Linked DNA regions of Homo sapiens: all the other regions are linked to region 2. Evidence: promoter capture Hi-C in 16 types of primary human blood cells and fetal thymus (Javierre and others, 2016). All regions are on one chromosome and are shown on one strand. The core of a region is centred on a gene start or on the middle of the fragment in contact, and the rest is flanking DNA. Distances in the headings are between cores, read along the strand shown. Region 1 has its middle 10 kb from the start of ACSL5. Region 2 holds the start of DUSP5 (dual specificity phosphatase 5). Region 3 overlaps ACSL5 (acyl-CoA synthetase long chain family member 5). Region 4 overlaps GPAM (glycerol-3-phosphate acyltransferase, mitochondrial). Region 5 overlaps ZDHHC6 (zDHHC palmitoyltransferase 6).

The links. The method cuts DNA at HindIII sites, captures the fragments that hold promoters and counts their contacts. A CHiCAGO score of 5 or more calls a contact.
Region 1: a contact is called between a fragment that was not itself captured here and the fragment with the promoter of DUSP5 in region 2, in 1 of 17 cell types (total B cells). The highest score is 5.1, in total B cells.
Region 3: a fragment that was not itself captured here is called in contact with the fragment with the promoter of DUSP5 in region 2 in 1 of 17 cell types (M1 macrophages); the score reaches 5.1 in M1 macrophages.
Region 4: a fragment that was not itself captured here is called in contact with the fragment with the promoter of DUSP5 in region 2 in 2 of 17 cell types (naive CD8 T cells and non-activated CD4 T cells); the score reaches 6.2 in naive CD8 T cells.
Region 5: a fragment that was not itself captured here is called in contact with the fragment with the promoter of DUSP5 in region 2 in 1 of 17 cell types (M1 macrophages); the score reaches 5.1 in M1 macrophages.

Annotation. Positions count from the first base shown.
Region 1 is chr10:112,361,283-112,366,171 of GRCh38, reverse strand. No RefSeq gene overlaps it. Among named protein-coding and RNA genes, the nearest start is that of ACSL5, 10 kb to the left of the region's middle. The HindIII fragment of the contact is 5,209 bases long and covers 1-3,969 here.
Region 2 is chr10:110,494,494-110,499,574 of GRCh38, reverse strand. It overlaps DUSP5 (dual specificity phosphatase 5), which reads right to left and starts at 1,668. Exons shown (of 4, transcript NM_004419.4): 1 at 1,075-1,668. The coding sequence starts at 1,453. It overlaps DUSP5-DT (DUSP5 divergent transcript), which reads left to right and starts at 3,093. Exons shown (of 2, transcript NR_187547.1): 1 at 3,093-3,187. RefSeq lists silencers at 942-1,211, 1,332-1,391, 1,462-1,601, 1,612-2,141 and an enhancer at 2,623-3,146. The HindIII fragment of the contact is 7,811 bases long and covers 1-4,199 here.
Region 3 is chr10:112,382,294-112,387,592 of GRCh38, reverse strand. All of the region lies in intron 1 of ACSL5 (acyl-CoA synthetase long chain family member 5), which reads right to left. Among named protein-coding and RNA genes, the nearest start is that of ACSL5, 11 kb to the right of the region's middle. The HindIII fragment of the contact is 8,019 bases long and covers 1-5,299 here.
Region 4 is chr10:112,176,550-112,181,748 of GRCh38, reverse strand. GPAM (glycerol-3-phosphate acyltransferase, mitochondrial) reads left to right here. Exons shown (of 22, transcript NM_001244949.2): 3 at 1-66; 4 at 1,154-1,276; 5 at 3,692-3,765. Among named protein-coding and RNA genes, the nearest start is that of GPAM, 4.6 kb to the left of the region's middle. The HindIII fragment of the contact is 4,349 bases long and covers 995-5,199 here.
Region 5 is chr10:112,426,979-112,432,159 of GRCh38, reverse strand. ZDHHC6 (zDHHC palmitoyltransferase 6) reads left to right here. Exons shown (of 11, transcript NM_022494.3): 11 at 1,253-1,860. The coding sequence ends at 1,356. ACSL5 (acyl-CoA synthetase long chain family member 5) reads right to left here. Exons shown (of 21, transcript NM_203379.2): 21 at 3,784-4,942. The coding sequence ends at 4,802. Among named protein-coding and RNA genes, the nearest start is that of ZDHHC6, 17 kb to the left of the region's middle. The HindIII fragment of the contact is 1,309 bases long and covers 1,163-2,471 here.

The sequences.
Region 1 (4,889 bases), core at 116-2,615, 1.9 Mb before region 2:
AGTCAGGCAGAGCAACCAAATGTTACTTAAAGGTCTTAGTGAATATGTCCAGATTCCAGAGACCACTGAACCTAATGAAGTCCTTTTTTTTGAGACAGGGTCTCGCTCTGTTGCCCAGGCTGGCGTACAGTGGCACAATCTTGGCTCACTGCAACCTCTGCTTCCTGGGTTCAAGCAATTCTCCTGCCTCAGCCTCTCGAGTAGCTGGGATTACAGGCACCTGCCATCACACCCAGCTAATTTTGTTTTGTTGTTGTATTTTTAGTAGAGACAGGGTTTCACCACGTTGGCCAGGCTGGTCTTGAACTCCTGACCTCAAGTGATCCACACGCCTCGGCCTCCCAAAGTGCTGGGATTACAGATGTGAGCCACCATGCCCGGCCCCAGATTTCTCCTTTTAATATAACCTCTGACCTCAGAATCTAGAAGATTCATCTTAAACCTCTAGATCTTTTGTTTTAGAATATTTCACTGGATTAAGATGATGGAACAGTCACAAAATAATGCTTACCATAAGCATTTTTGGTGAGGGCAAAGAAGAAATGTGAGGACCAGAGAGAAAAGGGAAAGCTCATGATGTCTGCAGTAGCTGGGACATGTGAAGCACGCGAAACACTTATTTAGGAAGGATCTTAGGCTGTTTTGACCTCTACGTCAAGCCTTTTCAAGTCAAACAACATGACTCAACAGGCAAGAGAAGCAAAGACCTAGAGCTATGGGCTGGATCTATTCTTGTTAACTTCACAATGATGGATCACAAAGAAAGAGGGGAGATGTCCCTTCCTGGAGTTAGCTGAATAGCAGGGCAGAGGTTGTGATGGCATGCAGTGGGCAAAAACAGAGCTGTGTTGCACTGACCTTTAGCTTCCCACATGGCAGAGTTGACTCTGAAGTTTATCTGTGTACTGAGATATGAGAAGGAAGGAGCGAAGTCCCTTAACTCATAACCAGGGTGTCATAATCAGCCACAGAAATTCATGTTCGCCCTTTCCCTGGTTATCTGATATTTCAAAAGGCTAATGACACTCAAAGTACAACTTACAGGGCAGTGATTCAAGTTTTTCATGCCAGATCCTCTCTGAAGGCCTTCATGATGGCGAACATCACTGAGCTCCTACCGCGTGGTGGCAACACTACATTTAAGTACTATCGCATTTAATCACACAGCAGCCCTATGGAAGTTTTTATTGCTATTTAGAAGGAGAGGAAAATCTAAGAGAGGCCAAGTAACACAGTTAAGAGAAAGAGTTGCTGCCATCGCTGAGCTGTGGGGTCAGCTTCTTCCTCATGCCCCATGAAGTTCCCATGGTGCAGGGTTCACTACAGGGCCCGGAATGGAGCTGTGAGCCCTTGCTGCATAGCAGACGGCTAAGAAGAAAGAGCTAGGGGGTAGCCTAATTAAACCTCCAAGGTACACAGCTAACAGTTGGCTGAGTCTCAGAGTCAGATTTTGAGCTTAGGTGGTCTTGAGTCTAGAGCCCAAGCACATATCTGTGACTGCGTACCATCCGTTCCAAGACCCCCTAGCAAACTGGTGTGTTTATATATGCGTTTCTTTTCAGAATTTTTACTGGTCTCTCAAAGAAAACTAAGACCCATTGCCCTACAGGAAGCCAGACCCAATACCAGACATGTGGACCGGATGCCAAGGGTCCGGCCCCCTCGAGAAGGGGTCCCTAGCAGCCTGGACATCCTGCCTGCTGCAGAGCCCATTACCAACTCAGAGCCTTGCTTCACTTCACTGGAGGGGCCAATGCTCCACGGGTCCCAGCTGTGCGACCCCCTAGCTCTTTCTTCTTAGCCGTCTGCTATGCGGCAAGGGCTCACAGCTCCATTCTGGGCCCTGTAGTGAACCCTGCACCATGGGAACATCACAGGGTATGAGGAAGAAGCTGACCCCACAGCTCAGCGATGGCAGCAACTCTTTCTCTTAACTGTAGCTGCTGATATCAATTGCTTGGGCATGCATGCTCTTGAGAACACGTGCTTACTCTTCGTGGGAAGAAAGTGTTACCCAAGTGTGAGCACTTGGCTGACAAGAATGTTGTTTGCCCAGATTACAATAAAAAGCTCCCCCAACCCCAGGCACCCCTCCCCTTTCTTGAACCACACACCCAAAGCAAATTGCCTTTCAGCCTTAGATTTGAGCTTTCCAATGGGTGGGGCATGACACATGACACATGGAAGGGCCAGTAGACACTGATCACCCTCAACCCTCGGGATGTGCTCGTGAACAGCCCCATCTCAGCCTTTTTTTTTTTTTTATCCCCCTGAGGTGGAGCCTCGCCCTGTTGCCCAGGCAGGAGTACAGTGGTGTGATCTCAGCTCACCGCAACTTCCGCCTTCCAGGTCCAAGCGATTCTCCCACCTGAGCCTCCCAAGTAGCTGGGATTACAGGTACCTGCCACCACACCGGGCTAATTTTTGTATTTTTAGTAGGGAAGGGGTTTCGCCATGTTGGCCCGGCCAGTCTCAAACTCCTGACCAGGTGATCTGCCCGCCTCGGCCCCTCAAAGTGCTGGGATTATGGGCGTGAGACACCGTGCCCGGCCCCATCTCAGGCTTTAAGTATGCTGAATAAATATTATTCTCAGTGTCATGATGTAGGCAGCTTGTTCCTTTATCAGCAAGAGCTTCCAAAGAGCATTAAAGAATCAGATAGACAGAACTGAGGCCACTGAGAGAGGTGTCAAGTTGAAATTCCCAGAACCTTCAACACCCCATAGGAAACATCGCTATCTCCCAGGGGATTAAAAGGGTGGCTCAGAGTGAAAATTTACTGTTCAATACTATAACCACTAACTACACGTGGCTACTGAGCAGTTGAAATGAGGCAAGTCTAAATTGAGAGGTGTTTAAGTATAAAACACACACCAAATTTTCCAGATGTGGTATAAAGAAAATAACATAAAATCTCAATGTTTAAAATACTGATTATGTGTTGAAATTATAATATTTAGGATACTCTTGATAAGTAATCTTAACTGCTATTTTTACTTTTTTAAATGTGTGTGCTAGAAAATTTTAAATAATATATGTTACTCGTGTTATTTTTTTGGACAGTGCTGATTTAGAAACTAAAGGCCCTGGCCAGGCGTGGTGACTCACGCCAGTAATCACGGCATTTTAGGAGGCCAAGGTTGGCGGGTCACTTGAGGTCGGGAGTTTGAGACCAGCCTGGCCTGAGGCATGAGAATAGCTTGAACCTGGAAGGCAGAGGTTGCAGTGAGCCAAGATCACGCCACTGCACGCCAGCCTGGGTGACAGAGTGAGACTCAGTCTAAAAAAAATAAAAAAGACAAAGAAACCAAAGGCCCTTTGACTTAATGCCTACAGAATATAAGCAAAAGGTAGTGTTGCCCAGTGGCAGCAATGAACATGTTGTAATTGTTCTGGGAGAACTTTTTTCCCCCTAAAAACCAGCCAGAGCTTCATCATCCCATGTAATGCTTGAAAACTATGTATATGCCTGTATATATTAGCAATTATAAATCCAGGCATCTTCAGAAACCTGTCCCAGCAACATCTTTTACCTGTTCCTCTGGTTTCTGCAGCAGCAGCAATTTGTTCCTTAGGGTCAACACAGAATCCATCCAACAGACTTTATGATCTTTTGCCTGGAGCAATAAACCTTTATTATAAAACTGCTACCACTTACTGGCTATTGTTACATGCCAGGCACTATGCTGTGTATTTTACATTTACTACTTCATTTAATCCTTGCAAAAGGTTGTCAGAGTAATTACGAATGAGGAAATTGGGTTCAGATAATACATAACTTGTCCATGCCAGCTTTTCTCATTCCAAAACCTGTGCTTACAGCCATTCTGCGACACTGCCTTCTACAGGAAGGTAGTGGGAGAAGCCGGGGTTCCTGTGCCATAGATAGGAATACCAGTATTCTGGGGGGATGTCAGCACCTCCCTCCTTTTCAAGCCTTTAAGGATATTATCCTCTGCCTTGCAAGCTTTCTTTCCCTGGGCTCACAGCCTGGGGACAGACACACCACGTGCTTGGCTCAAGAGCCTTTACCAGGAGCAGAGAGGAAATGCCAGGAAGTGGGAGGGCTCCTGGTTTCTCCAGACAAGAAACTGGAGAGGGCGGAGGAGTCAGGGACATCCTGTCTCACTTTAGATGTATGGCTATCCACCAGAAAGAAGCTGCCAGATGCCAAGCCCAGTGCCACAAAGGTCGCCAATTTACACAGATGGAGAAACATTCTGTGGGTCAAGAGTGTGTCATCACCAGAGAAAGATGGATTAGTACATATTTTTTCTTTTTTTTTTTTTTTTGAGGAGTCTTGCTCTGTTGCCCAGGCTGGAGTGCATTGGCATGATCTCTGCTCACTGCAACCTCTGCTTCCCGGTTTCAAGTGATTCTCCTGCCTCAGCCTCCTGAGTAGCTGGGATTACAGGCATCTGCCACTATGCCTGGCTAATTTTTGTGTTTTTAGTAGAGATGTGGTTTCACCATGTTGACCAAGCTGGATTCAAACTCCTGACCTCAGGTGATCTGCCTGCGTCAGCTTCCCAAAGTGCTGGGATTACAGGCGTGAGCCACCGCTCCCGGCCAGGACACATTCTTTATTTGCTCAGTGTTTGGGACACTATGACAGCAAAAGTGTCTTGGCAAACCTAAAATTTTATGGAAAGTGGCTTTGGAATTAATGGCATCACTGTTAGTCATTCCGTATCTTTGAATACTGAGTACCTGGAGCAGGTGGTTGCTTCTCCTCCTCACAACCTCTGAAAGTTTTTGCTCTTCATGCCAAGGCATAATGGGGGCAGGAGGAGGAGCAGAGACTACGAAATAGTAGGAACAGAGACTGTGAAATAAATATTCAGAAATCTGGCATTTAGGCCAGACTAGCCTGCTACCCCGGAGATTAT
Region 2 (5,081 bases), core at 419-2,918:
GGCTTTAAAACAGGCTCCTAACTCGGCGCCGGCTCTCTGCACCGAGCTCTGATCCCCAACACTGTTACATCCCAAGGTGTCCGCGCCAGGGCTGGCACGGCCTTGGGGCCCTGCTGGGGCTAAACCCTCATCTCTACATGTGGGTCAGGTCTCCCCGGGTGTCATTTGAGGTTACAAAGGACTCAAACACAAAGCAGGAGCAGTCATAGGAAGTAACCCAGAAAAAACCAATGCTTTGGATTTTGAGAGTCAATCACCCACCCACCACCAGAAGCCAAAGTTATCTTCCCGGCAGGTGAAATGGGCAGGCCTGTGGCGGTAGCTCCGGGAGGTGTCAAATCAAAGGCCGCAGAATCTCCATACCACCCTGCCCCCGCGCACCTCTATTTCGTGGCTGGCTGGCTGTAGGCTCAGCTCAGGATGGGTCCCAGGGATAATCCTGGGGCGGAGGAAGGAGGAGGTGAAAAGGGTGGAAAGGATGTGAGCTCCAAACTGAGCTAGAGAAAAGACCTAGGAGGGGAGAAGAGGCCGGAGGGAAACAATAAAAAGCAATAAAATGAAATGGAAAGGGAAGGGACTCGCCAGGTCAAAAAGGCAAGGGGGTCGGTGAAGACCACAGCTGGCTAGGCGGGAGGAAGGGGGGCACCACGGCGCCACACCAAGGGAGAGTGGATCGCGACCTGCTGATCCCGCCAGATCAGTCTATCAGGAAGGCCCCGAGCCCTGACCCCAGCGACAGCGGCGAAGCTCGCGTCTGGAAAGGGGGCTCGTGCCCGGCACGAGCCGACGGCCCCCAAACTGCTAAACAGCAGCAGCCCCCGCAGCATAACCAACTCCACCCAGACCACCGGGCAGACCCGCTGCCGGGCGCTTTCGAGGAACGCGGGTGGGGAAGAGGGGGAGCTCTGAGTGCTGACATTTGCAGTGCCCTCCCAAGCGCACAACAAGCCACAGGGTGCAGACTCCTGCAGGTGGTGACTCTCCCGGTCCCAGGGTGTAGGAGGGCGCCCCGGCGCAGGGAGGGGACCCGGGGGCGCCGGAGGGGCGAGCGTGGCAGGGACCCCGAGCGCTCACCTTTGAGGAAGTAGACCCGCGGGCCGGCGGGTAGGCAAGCGAGTAGCGAGGTGAGGACGACACGCGCGGCGCTCTCCTCTCGCAGCTTCTGCCAGTGGCGGCTGCCCTGGTCCAGCACCACCACGGCCGCGACGCCGCCGCCGCCCTCCTGCAGGAGCCGCGCGCGCGCCGCCTCGTCGGGCAGCACGTAGCGCGCCGACACCGCGCCGCCCCGGGCCCGCCGCAGCACCACCGAGTTGAGGTTGACGTTGAGCGAGCCGCGCACGTTCGAGGCAGCGAAGGCCAGATAGGGCCGGCAGTCGAGCACCACGCAGCGCGCCGCCGCCTCCTTGCGGAGCATCTTGCGCAGCTGGCGCCCGTCGAGCGACGTGACCTTCATGCCGCCGCCGCCGCCGGCCAGCGGCCCCGCGCCGCGCGCCCCGCGGGTGCCCACGGCCAGGGTGTCCACGGCCAGGGTGTCCGCGGGCGAGGCACGGGAGGGCGACCCGCGGGGCTGCGGCCGCGACGGAGCCCGGCGCCCGAGCGGCGGCGCAACTCCGCGTTCCCGCCCCGCTCGCTCGATAGCCAGCCCGGCCGCTCGCCGCCCTAGAAGCCGGGGATTCCGCCGGCCGCGCAGCGTTTTATGTGAATGAGTGCCGTCCGTGACGCGGCTGCCCATATAAGGCCAAATATGGGTGTTTCCCCGCCCCTCGGGCCGTGGCCACGCCCTGCAGGGGGCGGGGCAGCGGGGGCGAGGGACGCGCGGGGCGGGTGCCGGCGTTAGAGCGAGAGGAAGTGGAAGGCGCCTCTTCGTTCTCTCTTCCGCGCTTCGCTGAGGGACTCACTCGCGCATCACCCGCGGCTGCCGGTCGAGTGTCCCAGGCGCTCCGGGGCCGCGGTGACCCTCGCGGTGCGGACCGAGGAGGAAGCGCCGTGGGGGGCGGGGCGGCGCCGCACGATCCGGCCTTCAGCTTCACGGACGTGGGCTGAGAACCCGCCCGCGCCGCGCTGAGCAGGGCCGAGGGAGCCGGCCAGGGCCCCAGAGGAGTCCGGAACGGATTCCCGTCGCTACCGAGGTCTGCGCGTGTAAGGAGAGGACGTCGGAGATTTGCCTCGAGGGGTGGGGTATAGATGACTGGAGAGGTCAGGCGCGGGTTGGTCATCGCTGAGGCTGGGTGATGGGTGGCCGGATTCGTTATACTGTTTTCTCCACTTTTCTGTATGTTTGATATTTTTCATAATAAAGTTTGTAAAAGTAAAAACGGGGGTTGGGGGTCGGCGGTGAGAATAGCCATTTAATCTTCCTAAATGGATTCTGCCCTCAAAGGATTGACGCTCTTTTCTCTGTCACTCTCCAATAATGATTAGAATAATAAGTTGTATTTTGAGGAGCTGTTTTCTGGTCCCGGGGAGACCCTTGGTGAACTCAGCAGTACCATCAGCATGTATCCCACGATGGAGCTCAGTTCAGCCAACTGTTGTCCAGGTGGCTTCTGGATTTGGGGGATTATCTATGGATCAAGTTTAATCTCAGGCTGTCTGCCCCCACCGGTCCCCAGGGGCTTCAGGCCTCCCACCCCTATTCCTGGGGAAGCAGACACAATTCACCCATTCAGCAAGCATTTATTGAGGGTCAGCCGTGTGCCAGGGCTTTGCTAGCTGCGGGGACACATGGATGGAAACAGGTTTCTGCCCCCAAGCTCACTGCCAACCATTTTATTGTTAGCCTGGCTGGGACTGCTTGATGGAAAACAGTCTGCCCGCACTAGACAAGGGCTTGTTGACAACTGACATAAGGGAATGAGGTTTTCAGAAGGAAGCAGAGATCAAATTTTGAAATCAGATGCAATCAAATCAGACACCAGGACAGCCAGCATTGCCTCTGGGTCACAGATGCATCCACCCAAAGGCGCTGTCCTCGCCTTGCCAGTGGGGTCTTGGTGAAGACGTGATGCGGGGGCCTTCTTTCTTTTTGTGGTTATCTGTGCCAGCCTTCCCTGCAGGCTGCTCTTCCTCTAGCACGTTCTGTTTCTGTTACCGGCTCTTTCCACCCCCGGCATCTCCGCCTAGAGCCACACACATACGCGGAGCACCCACGTGGGCCAGGCTTTGTTTTGGGGCTGGCGGCACCAACGTGAGTAAGACTTATACTCAGCCCCAGCTGCCCCCAGCCCAGAGGGAAGGGGAAGGCCTGTAGTCCGTGGGGAAGAGCGCCCAGTAGGGGTGTGGCAGGGTGGGGCGTGGGCTGGAGAAGGCCTCCCGAGGAGAGGAGAGCTGAGGCCAACTCCGAGGAATGAATTGTAAGCCAGGCTGCGAAGCAGGAGGGGAGATTCCAGGCAGAGGAAACTGCTTGGGGTAAAGAAAACAAAAAACGCAACCCCCCCAGCATGGTGCGTACTGGAGGTATGTGGGAGACTAAGGCCCTTCTGGTATTTATTAGCAGATTAAGCAGGGTCAGGCAACAGAGGGCCTTGTGCTGTTTTGAGTCATTTGGGTCTTAGTCTTTGGCCGGGCAGTCCCCAACGAGGGATCTTACTCAGTGACAAGATCCGGATAGCATTTGGGAACATCGCTGAGGCGGCTCTGTGCGGGATCGGTGCTTTATTTGAGAGTGGTGGTGGGGTCCGGAGTCTGGGGGATGGATGGGAGGATTTCATGGGTAATCTAGACATGAGCTGATATGGACTTGCCAGAACTTGGCAGTGACAGCAGCTATGGGGAGGCCATAGGAATGGGAGCACATTGAGGAAGTGAGATGCTGGGAGGGGTGAGATGGGGAGAGAGAACTGGAGAGGGACACCAAAGATTTTTTTGTTTCCGGATTTTTTTTTTTTAGATAGGTTCTCGGGCCGGGCGCGGTGGCTCACGCCTGTAATCCTAGCACTTTGGGAGGCGGAGGCAGGCGGATCACCTGAGGTCGGGAGTTCGAGACCAGCCTGACCAACATGGAGAAACCCCGTCTCTACTAACAATACAAAAAAATTAGCCGAGCATGGTGGCGCATGCCTATAATCTCAGCTACTTGGGAGGCTGAGGCAGGAGAATCGCTTGAACCTGGGAGGCGGAGGTTGCAGTGAGCCGAGATCGCGCCATTGCACTCCAGCCTGGGCAACAAAAGCGAAACTCGGTCTCAAAAAAAAAAAGCTTGTTCTCACTATGTCGGCCAGGGTGGGCTCAAACTCCTGGCCTCAAGTAATCCTCCCACCTCAGCCTCCTAAAGTGCTGGGATTGAGCCACCACACCCGGTTAGCATTTTTCTTTTCTTTTTCTTTTTTTAGGACAGAGTCTCGCTCTGTCGCCCAGGCGGGAGTGCAGTGGCGTGATCTCGGCTCCCAGGTTCAAGCAATTCTTCTGCCTCAACCTCCTGAGTAGCTGGGATTGCAGGCACACACCACTACGCCCAGCTAATTTTTGTATTTTTAGTAGAGACGGGGTTTCACCATGTTGATCAGGCTGGTCTCGAACTCCTGACCTTGTGCTCCGCCCACCTTGGCCTCCCAAAGTGCTGGGATTACAGGTATGACCCATGAGCCACTACCCCTGGCCAACACCATAGTTTTTAACCTTTAGATAGGGACTCTACAGGAGCAGGTCTGGGGTGAGGGTAGCAGGAAAAGGAGGAGTGGGTGAAGTTTATTCATATTAATAAGCTAGAGTTGGTCACACCAAGGAAGGTGCCCAGAAAGCAGAAGGGTGGCATGGCACCCGGTGTAGGAGGGTCATCTGTCAGCTGGATTGCTTCCTCACATCCCATATCCAACAGATTACTAAGTCCTGGGACCCTGCTTCCCAGAGCTCTCATCTGACTCATCCTGTCTTGTCCCATGGCCAAGGCCAGCTTTGCAGGTATGTGACCTGTGCAGCCAAACGGGGCCCCGTACTTAGAAGGGACCCCCACTTGTTTTAATGCTCTGTTGTTACTAAATTGTTAATAATTTTGTGCAAGAGACCCTGCATTTTCCTTTCCCACTGGACCCCACAAACTCTGTAGGTGGTCCTGCCTATCGCTGTAGTTAAAGGGCCCCATT
Region 3 (5,299 bases), core at 2,511-5,010, 1.9 Mb before region 2:
AAAGTTTTGCTTTTTGAGCTGGGATTTCCATTTCTAACCCAGCTTCTAAAATCATTTTTCCTACATTCCTGCCACCCTCAACCTAGGAAACCTCTCTCTCAGTCCTTGACTACAGAGTCAGTATTTCTAGACAAACCCAAAAGTAATGACAAAAGGCCAGTATGAAATTACAAACCATTAGCATCATGAGCATACCTGGAAAGAGCTGATAACCTTTTCCTTTATATGCTATGAACGTGAACCAGGTGTGTGTTCTGTTGCAAGATCCTTCACCCAATTTCCTCAGAGCCCTGGGATGAAGGGCTTTTAAAAAATCATTTCTTAAACTAGTTTGCTTTTCTGTATCATAAGTAGTTTTCTTCTACTAGGGATATGACAGATGAGGTGATTTGAGACAATGATCTTGCTTCACAAAACTCAGTCAAAGAAAAGCATCATATGGAAAAAGCCCAGTAGATTGTCCCCCAAGGGAAGCTATTCTCAGCTACCCAAGCTATTTAAAATGATTCAAAATCCAAGGGGTCAACATTCAGATCTGACATAAAAATCTGTGGTCATATCTCCCAATTAAAAAACAAAACAAAATTTAAAAAAAGAGCTGAGAGGAGAAATTCTAAAAACCCTCTAAGGAAATAAGAGGTAACTAGTATGTTTCAGTTTTATAATTACTGAGATAATTTGGAGGTGGCCAGTTACTAAAATTGGTATGCAGAGAGTTAATAGCTTTCCTATATTTTATACAAATAACTGATTTAGAAGTCATGAAAAAGATGCTATTCACAATAGTGTATATAAGAATAAATGCGTAAAACCTATATTTTAAAAGTTTAGATCTGAAGTACCTAAGAAGGCTAGAAAAATGGAAAGACATACCTGAAATATTCAAGGTTCCTGTCACCTTAAAGGTATCTATACATTTAATGCAACCCTAATGAAGGCTTTCTTAGGAACTAAAATGCTAATTCTAAAGTACATCCAGAAAAAAATAAAACTTAACAAAGAGTGAAACAATTTTGAAAAATAGCAGGAATTGGGTAGGTGGCAGACCAGCAATCATTACCAAATTTAAATACTTACTATAGAGCTATAGGAGTTTTCTGGCCAGACACAGTGGCTTATGCCTGTAATCCCAGCACTTTGGAAGGCCGAGGCGGGCGGGTCACTTGAGGTCAGGAGTTCAAGACCAGCCTGGCCAACATGGTGAAACCCTGTCTCTACTCAAAATACAAAAATTAGCTTGGCATGGTGGCGTGCGCTTATAATCCCAGCTACTAGGGAGGCTGAGGCAGGAGAATTGCTTGAACCCAGGAGGTGGAGATCGCAGTGAGCCGAGATTGCACCACTGCACTCCAGCATGGGCAACAGAGCCAGACTCTGCCTCAAAAAAAAAAAAAAAAAAAAAAAAAAAAAAGAGCTATAGGAGTTTTCTATTGGTCATGAATAGACAAACCTATTTAATAAAATCATCCTGAAACATGCCCAGTAGATGCTATTATCATGTACTAAATTGCATTTCAAATCAAAATAGGTATTTTTTCACTTAAAATAAACGTACTGAGACAACTGGCTAGCCATTCAGAGAGAATACATTAAGCTGTCTACTCTCTTACTCCTACAACAAAAATAAGCTGAAGATAGGTCAAAGACTTAAGTATAAAACAATGAAAACAATAAGAATGGTTGGGGTGAAAAAGTATGGAGAGATTTTCTCTTATAATTTGGCATGGGGAAGACTCAAGACAGACATAACACCTAAAATCTATAAACAGAAATGTTGGCAAGTTTGATTATATAAAAATAAAAATTTTCCCGCAGAAAAGATACCAGAGACAAAGACACGTTGAGGAAAAAGTATCAACCCCCTCAGATAGGCTAAGAGTTAATTTCTTTAATAAGAAACTCAGACAACAATGAAAAACAAAATATAACCCAATAAAGCAAGGGCAGAGCTTGCTGAAAGTTCACAGCAAAACAAGCAAGTTATTTACAATTAGGGAAAGACATTCAACTTTGCTTATAGTTCTTAAGAATGCAGATTTAAATGACATGCCTTTTCCTCGTGCATCAGATTCCAGTGATGAAACGGTGAGAAATGCAACGTGAATTGTGGAAATGTACATTTGACGCTGTCTCTTAAAGAAGTCCCTATTGCCCTCTACACATCATAAAATGTATGCCCTTTCACCTAGTAATTCTACCATCAGCTTATCTCATAGAAAGACATCAGATCAATAAACTACATCACAAATGACATGTAAAGTACAGGTTAAGAATGTTGGCTCAGACTAGTTGGGCTCAAGCTCTTCTTGGTCATTTTCTTTGTGACCTGGGGCAGATAACTTAATTCTCTGTGGTTTCTCATCTATAAAATGGCAGTAATGGCATCTCCTTTCTAAGGCTGTCACCATGATTAAAAGAGTTAATGGATATATAAAGTGCTTAGAACCATGGCTGGCACGCAGGTTCATGTATTAACTATTATATTTATCACCTTTAAAGCTGTAGAATTGTTTCTAATCCAAAAGCCTAGGAAAGCCTTCCTTGATAGGAGAAGAATGAAACAAATTACAGTACTTCCACACAATGGAATTCTGGGCAGGTATTTTAAAAAAGAAAGTCGATCTGTAGGTAATGATATGAAAAGAGCTCATGATGTACTGCCAGGGAGAAAGAAAAAAATATTTGGACAGTGTGTACATTATCTTCTCAATTACAATGAATTATATACGCATTTGTGTTTCTGAAAAGACAATCCTCATAGAAAAAGAGAGATGGAGGTCGGGTGCAGTGTCTCACACCTATAATCCCAGTACTTTGGAAGGCTGAGGTGGATATATTGCTTGAGCCCAGGAGTTTGAGACCAGGAGTTTGAGTCTGGGGAACACGGTGAGGACCTGTCTCTACAAAAAATACAAAAATTAGCCTCGCTTGGCGGTGCATGCCGGTAGTCCCCACTACCTGGGAGCCTGAGGTGGGAGGATCGCTTGAGCCAGGGAGGTCAAGGCTGCAGTGAGCTGTAATTGTGCTACTGCGCTCCAGCCAGGGCAACAGAGCAAGACTCTGTCTCAAAAACAAAACAACAAAACAAAACAAAACAAAAAAACAAGAAAAAGACAGATGGAAGAGGAGAAATCATGACTGGATTTCTTGAAAGTCTTGTCTACTCCATCATTCAGCCAAAAGCTATTGAAGGGCTTGGCTGTATATGTTGCATTGTTCCAGGTGCTGGGGATATAGCAGGGAAAACCCTGCCCTCGTGAGATTGCATTATATTGGGGAGTTTGACAACAAGCCTGAGCAATAACTAGGTTACTTAGGACTACGGAACAACAAAAACAACAAGAGTAGGGAAAGAGAACTGGGGGTACAGCAGGGGGATGAGATTTTTGTTTTTTGTTTTTTTTTCTGAGACAGAGTCTTGCTCTGTTGCCCAGGCTGGAATGCAGTGGTGTGATCTCGGCTCACTGCAACCTCTGCCTCCTGGGTTCAAGCGATTCTCATGCCTCAGCCTCCCAAGTAGCTGGGATTACAGGTGTGTGCCTGGCTAATTTTTGTATTTTTAGTAGAGACAGGATTTCGCCATGTTGTCCAGGCTGGTCTTGAGCTCCTGGTCTCAAGTGATCCACCTGCCTCAAGCCTCCCAAAGTGCTGGGATTACAGGCATGAACCACCGCGCCTGGTGGATGAGTTTTAATTAGGGAGGCGTAGCGTAGTCTCAGTGGGAAGGTAACACTTGATGTGTACTGTTTAATCTGAAATATGCACACTTACAAAAAAAAAGAATAAAATGAACAGCTCCATATAATCCCACCTCCAACACAGGCAGCTAATTTAGAAAGTTCTACCACCTTGGTTGGTGGCATTTCATGTGAATGCACCTAAGTGTACACCTCAGCTTTGTTTCTACAAGTGTGGCTCTCCCGCTACCAAAACTACATTTGACACACAGCCTCTTCCAAGCCCTCATGTTGTGTAAAATGCTTCTCAGCCACTGAGTAATCCAGCTGGACAGCAGCTCTGTGGGTGGAAACCTTTTTCATCCATTTCTCTAACCGATAAGAAACCAGAGCAAAGGTGAAGGCTGAGTCACAGGGCCGAGGGGCCCTGAAACTGTGTCTTTCAATATTCATTCCAAGTAGCTAAGAAGGAAGGATGGCCTGAGATCCTGACCTACAGCCTGCTGATAACTTCCCAGCCATTCACCAGTTGCTCAAGCCATTGTCTTATAATAGCCATGGCCCCAGGCAGATGGGAAGGGCCTTATTTTATTTATTTATATATTTATTTTGGGACAGAGTCTCGCTTTGTTGCTCAGGCTGGAATGCAGTGGCGCTATCGCAGCCCCATCCTAACATGCTCAGCTCACTGCAGTGTTAACTTCCCAGGCTTAAGTGATCCTCCCACCTCAGCCTTACAAGTATCTGAGACTACAGGTGTGCACAACCACACTCGGCTTTTGTTTTTTGTTTTTTGTTTTTAAGTTTTTTGTAGAGATGGGGTCTCCCTAAGTTGCCCAGCCTGGGCTTGAACTCCTGGGCTGAAGCGATCCACCTGCCTCAGCCTCCTAAAGTTCTGGGATTACAGGCATGAGCCATGGCACCCAGTGGGGAAGGTCCTTCTTATCATCTCCGCCGAGAGGTGGTGGACAGAGCAGGGAGACAGCATTACCAAAGGGAGCCCTGTTAAAACACCAGGTGGTAGCTAAGTAGTAGTTTCCACACCATGGAAAGATTCAATTCGATTGCTTACGTAATTTTTTAAAAGATAAGTGATAATAACCTCTCATATCTCTCTTCCAAGCCCAATTGCTAGACAGCATCTAACAGTCCCAATGTGTAAGACAGCTGGCAGAGAAAGGGTTAAGAGTCTAGGCTTCAGACAGGTGTCCTGGGCCACAGGCAAGCATACCATAAATAAATCATTAGGGCGTTCGATGCAGCTCCACTGGTAAAATCTTTGCTGCTGAATTGCACAGGAAAAGCTACAGGAGCCAGAGCTCAGAAGAGATAGAAGAGGTGGAGCAGAATAAGCCCTTTCCTCGGGTTTGGGTCCCAGTGAGGCTTCCTGGGACTCATGGATCTGTGTGTCAATAGGCCTCCCAGTGCTGTGAGCACTCATGCACATAGTGACCATCCTCACCTGTGGATTCCACTGCACCTAGCATGGCACCTGAGACACAGTGGGAAGCTGCTGTTACCAAGCCACCTTCACCTTTTACTCACCATTGGCACAATTTGAGAGAAAGGCAACTAGCGAGGAGAGTCTGCTGAAGGAAAGTTTGCAGTGTTCAATCCCACAA
Region 4 (5,199 bases), core at 1,920-4,419, 1.7 Mb before region 2:
GTTTCTTATCTGCCACATTCATCAGAATACAGTGTTGGTCGATGTAAGCACACAAGTGAGGAATGGGTAAGTTTAGGATAAGAGTTAAAAGCACTCAGCCTAAAAATGTTCATTTCAATGATGTTTATGAAGGTGCAAATACTGGCAGCAACATAATATCACATCAAGATTAATAGCTACAGAAACTGGTATGTTTATGAAGCCTAATAAAAAATTTTATGGCATTATATTGGGAAGAAAAAATGGTTAGAAAATTTATGTACACTGATTATGTTAGAAAACAAAATAATCATTTTGCATAGGAAAAAAACCCTAGTAGTAGTTTTGGGTCGGTAAGAAATTTTTTTTTCTTTCTTTCTCTTGGTATGTACTTTCCATGAGTTATACTTGAAAAGCATGAATTTTATAATAGAAGTAAACTTTAAAAAATTAGGAACTTATAGTATGAATTCAATCCAAAAGGCGTACATTTTCTTGGATTGTTTTTCCTATTTCAATATAACATGACGTATTTTAAATATCTTAATTGTCTTTATATAAAAAATGGTGGGGTTTTTTTTTTTGCTTAATTTTGAGAATGTTATATCTGTATAACAGAGATGTGAGCAACTGAGCTCAAAGTTAAGCATTTTTAGAATAGAAGAGCAAGGTTTGACCCTAATTGAATAGTATAGCTATAATTTAAGTTCTGGTCTTTAAGTTCCCTTGATAAGATAAAGGAATGTTATATAAGTTTACCTGTTTTTTATTTAAAGTAAAATTATAAAAACTTGCTCACTATGTAAGGCCTTTATAGTTCTGTAGTGCGACTGTGTGATTTAAAAGGGGGTAAGGTTAATTGTTAGACTAGAGATCCAGGAGTCTGAATTGATTTATCTAGCTGTCAGAAGTCTGTTTGACCTTCTACAATTTAGTTTTTAAATTTTTGAATACTGCCTTCAGTGTGTAGCTATTACTATCCTTGGGTGCTCAGCTTTTGCTTATGTGGTAAGCTTTTATCCAAGTGTTGATCATGGAGGGAGTACTTAAATGAAAATCACCCAGAATATGCCATAAGTTTTTCTTCTGTTCAAAATACTTTAGATTTTGAGATCAAGTAGACAAGTATTCTCTTGCCATTTAGAAACTATATTTTTTTCTTAATATTTGTCAGGGTGAGTGTGGCTTTAGACCCACCATCTTCAGATCTGCAACTTTAAAATGGAAAGAAAGCCTAATGAGTCGGAAAAGGCCATTTGTTGGAAGATGTTGTTACTCCTGCACTCCCCAGAGCTGGGTAAGAACCTTACTGCTTATTGACCCTAATACTCAGCATAAAATATTATTTCCAACTTTGTAGTAGGCAGTCTTATTGGACTAAATTCACTTTCAGAACAGAGACCCATGTTTATGAACCAAATATTTCAAGTAAAGATGTTGACACACTTTTTCTTTCCATTTATTTATTCAGTAAATATTGGTCCCATAATTGATACTAGGTAACATTCTAGTTCTTTTGAGGTTTTAGTAGGATTTTAAGGGGGAGAGTAGATCTTACTTTTGGTTAAGTCTTCAAAGGAGTTAGTGGGAACCTTCATGAACTTTTAGGTGTTGAACTTTAGCACTTAACATTAAAATTCTAGCAAGATAAGAAAGAGATAATGGGACAGAATAAGAAGTTAAAGCTGTGACTTTGCTCTGAGCCTTTGCTAATGGAAGGTGTCTGTTGACTTTGTGATAGTGAAAGATTGTCACTAAAATGTTAGAATGAAGATTTAAGAGAGTGTATATGGGTTTGTTGTTTGTATTTTGGTGAAAAAACACAAGCCATGCAATATCTTTTGCATTACAGTGCAGTCTTTGAGAAGAGCCAAGTGGGTGAGAGGTATATTTTCGGTGGTAGTTGAAGAGAAGGACAAATTAGCACAGGAACAAGAACTTCACGTAGTTGTGTTTGAAGGCAGTAGAATTGCCTTTTAAAAGTCATATCTGGATGTTAAGCTCTCTCTGGGATCCAGTTATTAGGATGAAGAAATTCTGCCGTTTAAGTGCCTGCCATTTATAGAGGTTGCTTGTAACTTGTGTGGCTAGGTAATTGTGCTGTGTGAATTTTCTACTCAAGGTTGGTTTGGCAGAAAGTAGAATTCTGAGTCTGGTATAAAGGGGTTTACTAACATGGGAGAGATTTGTGTGGAACCCAAGCAGTTTATGTTAAATGTTCAGATCTGCTGAAGAATGTCTTGTTATAAATATTGCTTCTTTTAAACCACAACTACCTTGTTGCAAGAATTTGGTAGAATTCAAGAATCACAGAAATTTCTAGCCTAGGAGTAAAGCTAGTTCAGATTAATAGGTCACTTGAAATCAAGATTTAAACAGAATGTCATTTTCTTTTTAGATCTGACATCTAGTCTAATTCTAATTTTGAATACTTAAAACAATAACTACAATGTGTTCTTAAGTCAGAGGGTATAGGAAATAATTTGGTGGTGGTAATGGTTTGGAGTAAAGGGTAAAGGTAGATAGTACAACAGACAATTGATTTTTGCCCTACTATAGTACCTGATGGAGTTGAACTTGATCTTGAATTACTTCCATGACATGATCATTTAAAATAATTTGTTTAAAAATGTTTTTATTGGTAACTGTATAATATTTGCTATCTTTTCTCTGAAATCGTATTTTCCTTTTCTCTAAAGAGATTCCACTTAAGTAGTTTTATATTTGTTGAGGGAACATTGTGCTTTTTCAGCATTTAAGTGTGGAACAGTTACCTTTTTGCCCATATTGATAAAGCTATAGACTATCTTTTCAGCAAAGCTATCTCTGGATTATCTTTCAAGATCACATGTAAAGAGGGTGACCAGTAGACAGACGATTTCTCATTAAATGGACAGTTATTTAGGGGTAATAGAAAGACCATACTCTTTAGATCAAGACATAAGATTGAATCCTAAACCTCTCCCGGTCTTAGTTTCTCACCTAGAAAATGGTGATAACTCTTTTGTGTCAGGGATTTTGGGAGATTTAGTAAGCAACAATAACTGCATGGTACTTAGCGTGGTCTTTGTATTTTGGGAAAACTGAAATCTCTGACATTCTTGTAGCTTCACTTCTTTCAGGGTGGAGATGAGGAGTCAAGCAGCAAGGGGTACTGTTTCCTTTGGTTTTAAGGTGGTTTGTTTGTTTGTTTGTTTTTTGTTTTTGTTTTTGTTTTTTTGAGATGGAGTCTTGCTTTGTCGCCCAGGCTGGAGTACAATGGCATCGTGTTGGCTCACTGCAACCTCCGTCTCTTAGGTTCAAGCAATTCTCCTGCCTCAGCCTCCCAAGTAGCTGGGATTACAGGCACCGACCACCACACCCAGCTAATTTTTATATTTTTGGTAGAGACGGAGTTTCACCATGTTGGCCAGGCTGGTCTCAAACTAATGACCTCAGGTGATCTGCCCGCTTCGGCCTCCCAAAGTGCTGAGATTACGGGTGTGAGCCACTGCGCCTGGCTAGTTTTAAGATTTTAAAGATGAATTTTGAGTTTATGACATTCTTTGAAGGCTAAAAAGTACTTTTCAATAAAACTTTTTTCTTCCCTAAGATTTTTGAGGCAATATCTGTTTTTATGCTTGATATTAAAGTTATCAAGAACTCATAATGAGAGCTCTTCACCGTCAATCTAGTTGTGTATTTATGTCTACATTTACTTTGTTTTATATAGGACAAATTTTTCAACCCCAGTATCCCGTCTTTGGGTTTGCGGAATGTTATTTATATCAATGAAACTCACACAAGGTAAAAAGAAATTTCTTATGTTTTTAATACATCTCAAAAGAAAAACTTCATAATAATCAGTTAACACACTTTAAGCTGAATTGCTTTGCATTACTGAGAGTGAATAGAATATGAGTTTCTGACACAAGAGAGATTATCTGAAAATTGGAAGCAGTATAGCCACAGAGAGAACTATTACTGTTACCACTTGTGTACTTACAGATAATTTCAGGGGAGTGTAGATGTCACTTAGAATGTTCTTTGACTTATATTGATTTGCATATGAAGTATGCCAAAATGTGGGAAATATTTGTCTGAGAAGACCGGTAGGTTTGAATCTCTTATGATTTATTATGACTATTTAATACTTAAAAAAAGTATAAATTATTGAAATCTGCCCAATCTGTAGGGTGTTAAAAGACATTTTCTCTGTTGAGCAAATGTTGTTTGAGTTACTATTTACCCAAGACTTTACTTAGAGTTCTTACAATTTCTAGGCATATGGGGATAGGCTTGTAAGCACCAGTGTGAGAGAAAAAGGTCTTTGTTTTATCTGACTCTAGGCCAGGGGACAGGGAAGGAGGGTCGAAAGGTTGTGTGAATGTCTGTGAGGCAAGAGAATCAGTAGCCAAATGCTAGCAGTCCTTGTAATTCTAAAAATAGATACCTGGAGTAGGCAGGCAGATAGGCTCAGATGAGAAATACTTGAAATTCTATGAAAATTAGTGCAAGAAATCAACTACTTGAAGCCCTTATGATATTACTTCTCATAATTTGATGATGAGATCACATATGAGAATGATAATACTTGGATATATAGTAAACTTTTAAAAATAGAACTTAAGTCTAAGTACATGAGCAGATCATTCCCAGGCTGCTGGTCTCTCTCTCTCTCTCTTTTAAATTTGCATTTAAATTTAAATTTAAAAAAGAGGGGAGAGACTTTGGTCCGTTGAATTTTTTTTGATAAGATGATAAGATCCTAAGAAAAGGGATCTCAGAGTCTTCCTTATGTAAGTAGATATTTTATATATAAAGCCAAGAGGTTTGTTTCTTGCCCTCAATTAGAGACAGTTAAGGAAAATCGCATTTGCTATGATGACGAGGCAGAATGAAACTATTCAGTGAAATAAGCTGCATGTTCAGCTATTTACTTCTTCTGTGTATTCTATGAAGCAAAGCCTAAAACATTTTTACACATTCACATAGAGTCACACACTCTGTCACTGTCACACTCATGCACATGTGCGCACACACACACAATGCTTTCAGTCAGTTGCAAAGGGATTTCATAGAGAGCTTGGACTTTGTACATACCAATAATATTTCTGAAAATGTTGACTGAAGGAGGAGTTTAGGATTAACATTTAATATATTGGGCCAAATTTTTGGAAGATTTAGACAAAGGAAGGGAGGAAGAAAAAGAGAATGGCAGGAAGGAGAGGTGAAGAAATA
Region 5 (5,181 bases), core at 568-3,067, 1.9 Mb before region 2:
CAATCATGCCTAATGCATTAGGGGAACTGCATAGAAGGGTATATCACTAAGCAACAAAAGGAACTTCCTTATATATTTCTCTATAGCTCTTGTATTTTTCAGGTCTTTTTAATGATAGCTAACATTTGAGCTCATAACTATGCGAAAAGTACTTGTATAAGTGCTACCCTTAAGGTGTAGAAGTCCCCAAAATACTTCGGAGGTAGGCACTATTATTTATATTTGATTGAGGGAACTGAAGCACAGAGAGGCAACTTGCCCATAGCTATGCACTGAAAACAGATGGAGCTAGGGCTTAACCCCAAGCAGTCTGACTCCAGATTCTATGCACCAAACCCCTGTACTATTTGCTGCCCCCACTTTGAGCATTTCTCTTAAGTTGTTATAAAAACCAGTAGATTGAAACTTTGTGTTTTTTTTTTTCTTAAGTTTTATAATTGTTTCTTTTTAAAGTAAAGATTAGCTCGGGATGTTCTTTAAAAAATAGTTGGGGTTAATCATAAATTAACCTCTTATGACGGCCGTGATATAGAAATGTATATGTTAGGCCAGGTGTGGTGACTCATGCCTGTAATCCCAGGACTTTGGGAGACCAAGGCAGATGGATCACCTGAGGTCAGGAGTTCAAGATCAGCCTGGCCAACATGGTGAAACCCTATCTCTACTAAAAATACAAAAATTAGCCGGGCATGGTGGTGTGTGCCTGTAATCCCAGCTGCTCCAGAGGCTGAGGCAGGAGAATTGCTTGAACCCGGGAGGCAGAGGTTGCAGTAATCTGAGATCGTGCCACTGCACTACAGCCTAGGTGACAGAGCAAGACTCCATCTCAAAAAAAAAAAAGAAAGAAATATATATGTTAGAAAAAGTCTAAAAAGGAAATTTACAAAGACTACAAGAAGATAGTTCCCTGGAAAAGACAGTGTGATGGTGTGCCAAAAACACCTTTCCTGATCATACACATATAAGTAAACACCCATACCGAGTTCCCCCTGACTCTAGTTAGGAGCTGTCTTTAACCACATTAGTCCCTATTCGGGATCATCAAATTTGGGAAATACCTGTTCCTAGCTTGTTATGAACATTTAAAAATCTTATTTTTTTCCCCTTCAAACTGTGCTTATAATAGATAGCAAAGTGGGGAATAAAAGTCTAACTACAAGCTTATTAATTTGAAGTAATAGGACTTACTGCTTTCAGTAATGTCACTGTCATCCATCAGACTATTTCACCTCAATTTCATTTTCTCCCTCAGGTGTTTCAAGAATAAGGGGTTGGTTCCCTAGAAAATGTGTGGAAAAGTGTCCCTGTGATGCTGAAACAGATCAAGCCCCAGAGGGGGAGAAGAAAAATAGATAGCTGCTGTTAAAACAAAATTATCCTTTAAGTCTGCTTAATTACTTGAAAATTGTACATATTACTAAAGAATTATGCAATGAGCCTACTCTGGTTAAGATGTTCTTTTCCTCAAAGGTGCCCTAGTGCCATGATTTAAATATTTTTATTACCATTTTGAAATGGAGAAGCCATTCTGCATATGCCTTTGAATTCCTGCCCCTCTTTACCACCTCTTCCTCCCCCTCAAAGGAAAAACATTTCATCCAAGTAAGTTAACGGCATTTTCTGTAGGATTTTCTTATGCACTGCACACTCTGGACCTCACCTGCAGATACAGTTCCCCCCTTGCCAGGAGCATCTGCATGTGGTACTTCTCTTTTCCCTCAGTTGATATTTCTTATATGATATTCTAGATACTATAGAACTCAATTTGTCAGATTCAGTATAACCTCAGATTTTGTTACCTGTCTTTTAAAAATGCAGATTTTGTCAAATCAAATAAAGATCAATGGATGTTGGGTATAATCAGTTTTTACTTAAAGCATTTTTCTTTTTGCTGACTAAAAAGGTTCATCTTAGTTCCTTATGGAAAAACTGCTCTGCTGCCCTGTGGACAACTGGCATCTTAAAACGTGGCTTAAGACATGACACACTTGCTTCAAGATATTAACCCTATTAATGGGATATTGCGGTCATAGTGATGGCAGCGGATGGCAGTGGTGGCCTGAGGGGTGTTGAGGGGGAGCCGTGATAGGCAGGAGCCAAGCGTAGCTACAGCTGTCCAGCCGTGGCTGCGGACCCGGGCATCCTTGTGCTCTAGGGGGCCGAGGGGAAATACCCCCCCCACACCCCCCCCCCAACAACTGCTTGGCCTCTTCCTGCTCCTGGCACTCGCTCTGGAGCAAAGGTGAGGCCAAGCCCGGGTGCTGTGAGGACCTGGCCAGGTGTACGTGAGCTCTGAGTGGTGCTGACACCAGCGCCCTGCCGCCTAGGCCCCCTCTGGACTTTGGGCTGCCAGCCACAGAGGATTCCAGCTGGGGAAGCAACACCCCAAGGATCCCGTGGCAGTAGTGTTCTAGACTTTAAACATAGTGATATCAAACTACTCATGTACCCTTGAGTAAAAAGCTGAAGCTTGTGTGAGTGGTAGGATCCAAGCTGGTGGGCTTGGATGCTTAAATTGGGCTTGTCTAAACATAACAGTGGAATCACAGAAGGAAAGAGAAAGCCTATTTCTCTGGACTTCAGAAACCTTTCCAAGGCAGGGAATGTGAAGCTTTGGGGGCCAGGCCTGTAATAGTTGAGGATAAGGGAAGAGCACTTGGGAATTCAGCAGTGAACAGACAGGTAAAATATATGTAAGATGGAGTCATGTTATTGTGAAGCAAGAAGGTAGGACAGTCTTGAGTTGGCATTTGAAGCAGATGAGGGGACAAGTCATGTGCTTTGGGATATTTGCATTTTAGAGACAGCAGCAAGAACAAAAACAGGCTGGACCTGTGTCTGACACGTTTGAGAAACAGGAAGGTAACTAGTGAGGTTCAGCTGTAATGCGTGAGGGGAGAATAGGAAAGGAAGTGAAGGCGAGAAAGTTAAAGTGATAATGGGAGCTAGACTTTAAAAGTTAATTCCTGCCTACCCTTTTGTTTCAGATCCTTAAGAATAGATATTTCTTTGGCTTTTCTGGGCTCAAAATCTAGAAAGACCATCCAAGAACATTCTCTTTAACTCCAGTTGGAGGCCAGAAAAGAATACTATTAATATTCAAGATTATAATTAGAGTACAACAAAGATGGTAAAAGAATGGATATGACTTGTGCTCAGTTGGAGTTTTGGCTCAGCTGGTATTTGTTTTATTCTTTACAGCTATGGGATAAGAAGGTTTGGTCTTCAGAACTTACTTTTCTTCACTAACCTGTTCGCAGACTAGAATCATCTGTGGGTCTTCTTAACAATCTCAGTGCCCAGGCTGTATCCGGCCATTTAAGCCAGAATCCCTGGAGTGGCAACCAGGCATTAGTGGTTTTTTTGTTTTGTTTTTGTTTTTTTTTTTTGAGACAGAGTCTCACACTTTCACCCAGGCTGGAATGCAGTGGTGCGATCTCGGCTCGCTGCAAGCTCCGCCTCTCGGGTTCATGCCATTCTCCTGCCTCAATCTTCTGAGTAGCTGGGACTACAGGTGCCCGCCACCACGCCCAGCTAGTTTTTTGTATTTTTAGTAGAGATGGGGTTTCACCATAGTAGCCAGGATGTTCTCGGTCTCCTGACCTCATGATCCGTCCGCCTCGGCCTCCCAAAGTGCTGGGCATTAGTGTCTTTTTAAACTTCCTAGATAATTCTATTGTGTACCCAAGTTTAAGAACAGATACTGTACTTGATTTTTAAGGGGTCCTTGTTTAAGACTGATTTTCATCATGGTCCATGAGGAAAGAAACACCACAACGTAAGTATCTGTAATAGTTTATTTTAAAGACTTTACATTTACAAGTAGAAACAACATGTGTTATCTGTGGGTAAGGTAGAGCAGGAACTCTAATCCAAGGGTGGGGGAGATCAGTTGGTTCCTTCACAGAAAATAAGCCTGTTGTGTGGGCATCTTGCTTGCCTGTAGATCTTTGTTCCCAGTTCAGGAGGTTTTTATTCAGTGCTTGCTTCATTTACTGGAAAAGTTCACTGGGCCCACCTGTCAACTCCTTCCCCCACAGCTTCCAGCTCAGCAGCAAACTGTAGGGAACAGATTTACTCCCCAGTTCCTACTGTAAATAATGCTTTAAGAACAGCATTCCTTTTGGACAATATGTCATAGACCCAATTTTTAATACTCCCAAGTCAGATATCTAACTAGAGAGTTTAGGAAATGTTTGGTATGATCAAACTTTTCCCTTCAGTACACAATTTAATTTACGCAGAAGAGCATCGGAGACATTTGTCTCATAGATATGATTGACATGAGTGATAGGCTAAAACTAAAATTTTAGTGGTTTGTGGAGTGGCTAGAAAACATGAATTGTAAGCAGTTTTTCAGAATTTAAAAATCTCTTAGTTTGAACAGTAGAAGATGTAAATAAGCATAGAGACTGTTGGCAAGTTATGTTTATCACAAAACAAAGAAGAAGGCACAGAGGGTCCCTTTGACCCTTGAACTTGTGGTTACTAATAGTATTAAGGTTGGAAATCATGAGGAAGGACACAGAACATAAACTGGGATCTTGAAGACAGGCATGTTGATAAAAGTAGCCCTGAAGCCTTAATATTAGCAACATCGAAGATGGGAAAGACAGGATTGATTTATTTGGGAACTAAGTTTACACATTATATGTCTCAATATAAAACAAAAGCTATGGCTTTAGAGTTTAACAGGTTAAAAAAAAATAGGAGGAAAGGCAAAACAAATGTAAGAATAGTTTTTAATCCATTTTCTCACAAGCAGTGCACAGTGGGCCGGCAGGTACTTAAGTACCTTATCCTAATCCTGGATGTGCTCATACAGGCTGTCAATTTGGGTCCGAAAGTATTTGGAAAGCTCTCCTCGCTTTGCTTTCAATGTTGGTGTCAAGAGCCCATTTTCAATGGAAAATGGCTCTGGATGAAGAAAAATGGCTTTGACCTGGAAGATGAACACACACACATCCATGCTCATTAGTGATTTGGACTTCTCTGCAGAGCCCCCTGAGTGCTCTGTGAAGAAAGTGAGGTTGATGCAGTGAAAGGGTAAAGGTAACAGTAACACATGCCCATTCCCACAAACATAATTTAAGAAAGTAATGAGTAGGGAGAAGGGAGAATGGACAATAAACAGCAAAAAAAGGGCGCTGTACAAGTAACTACAAAAGGTCATTTTGTAGT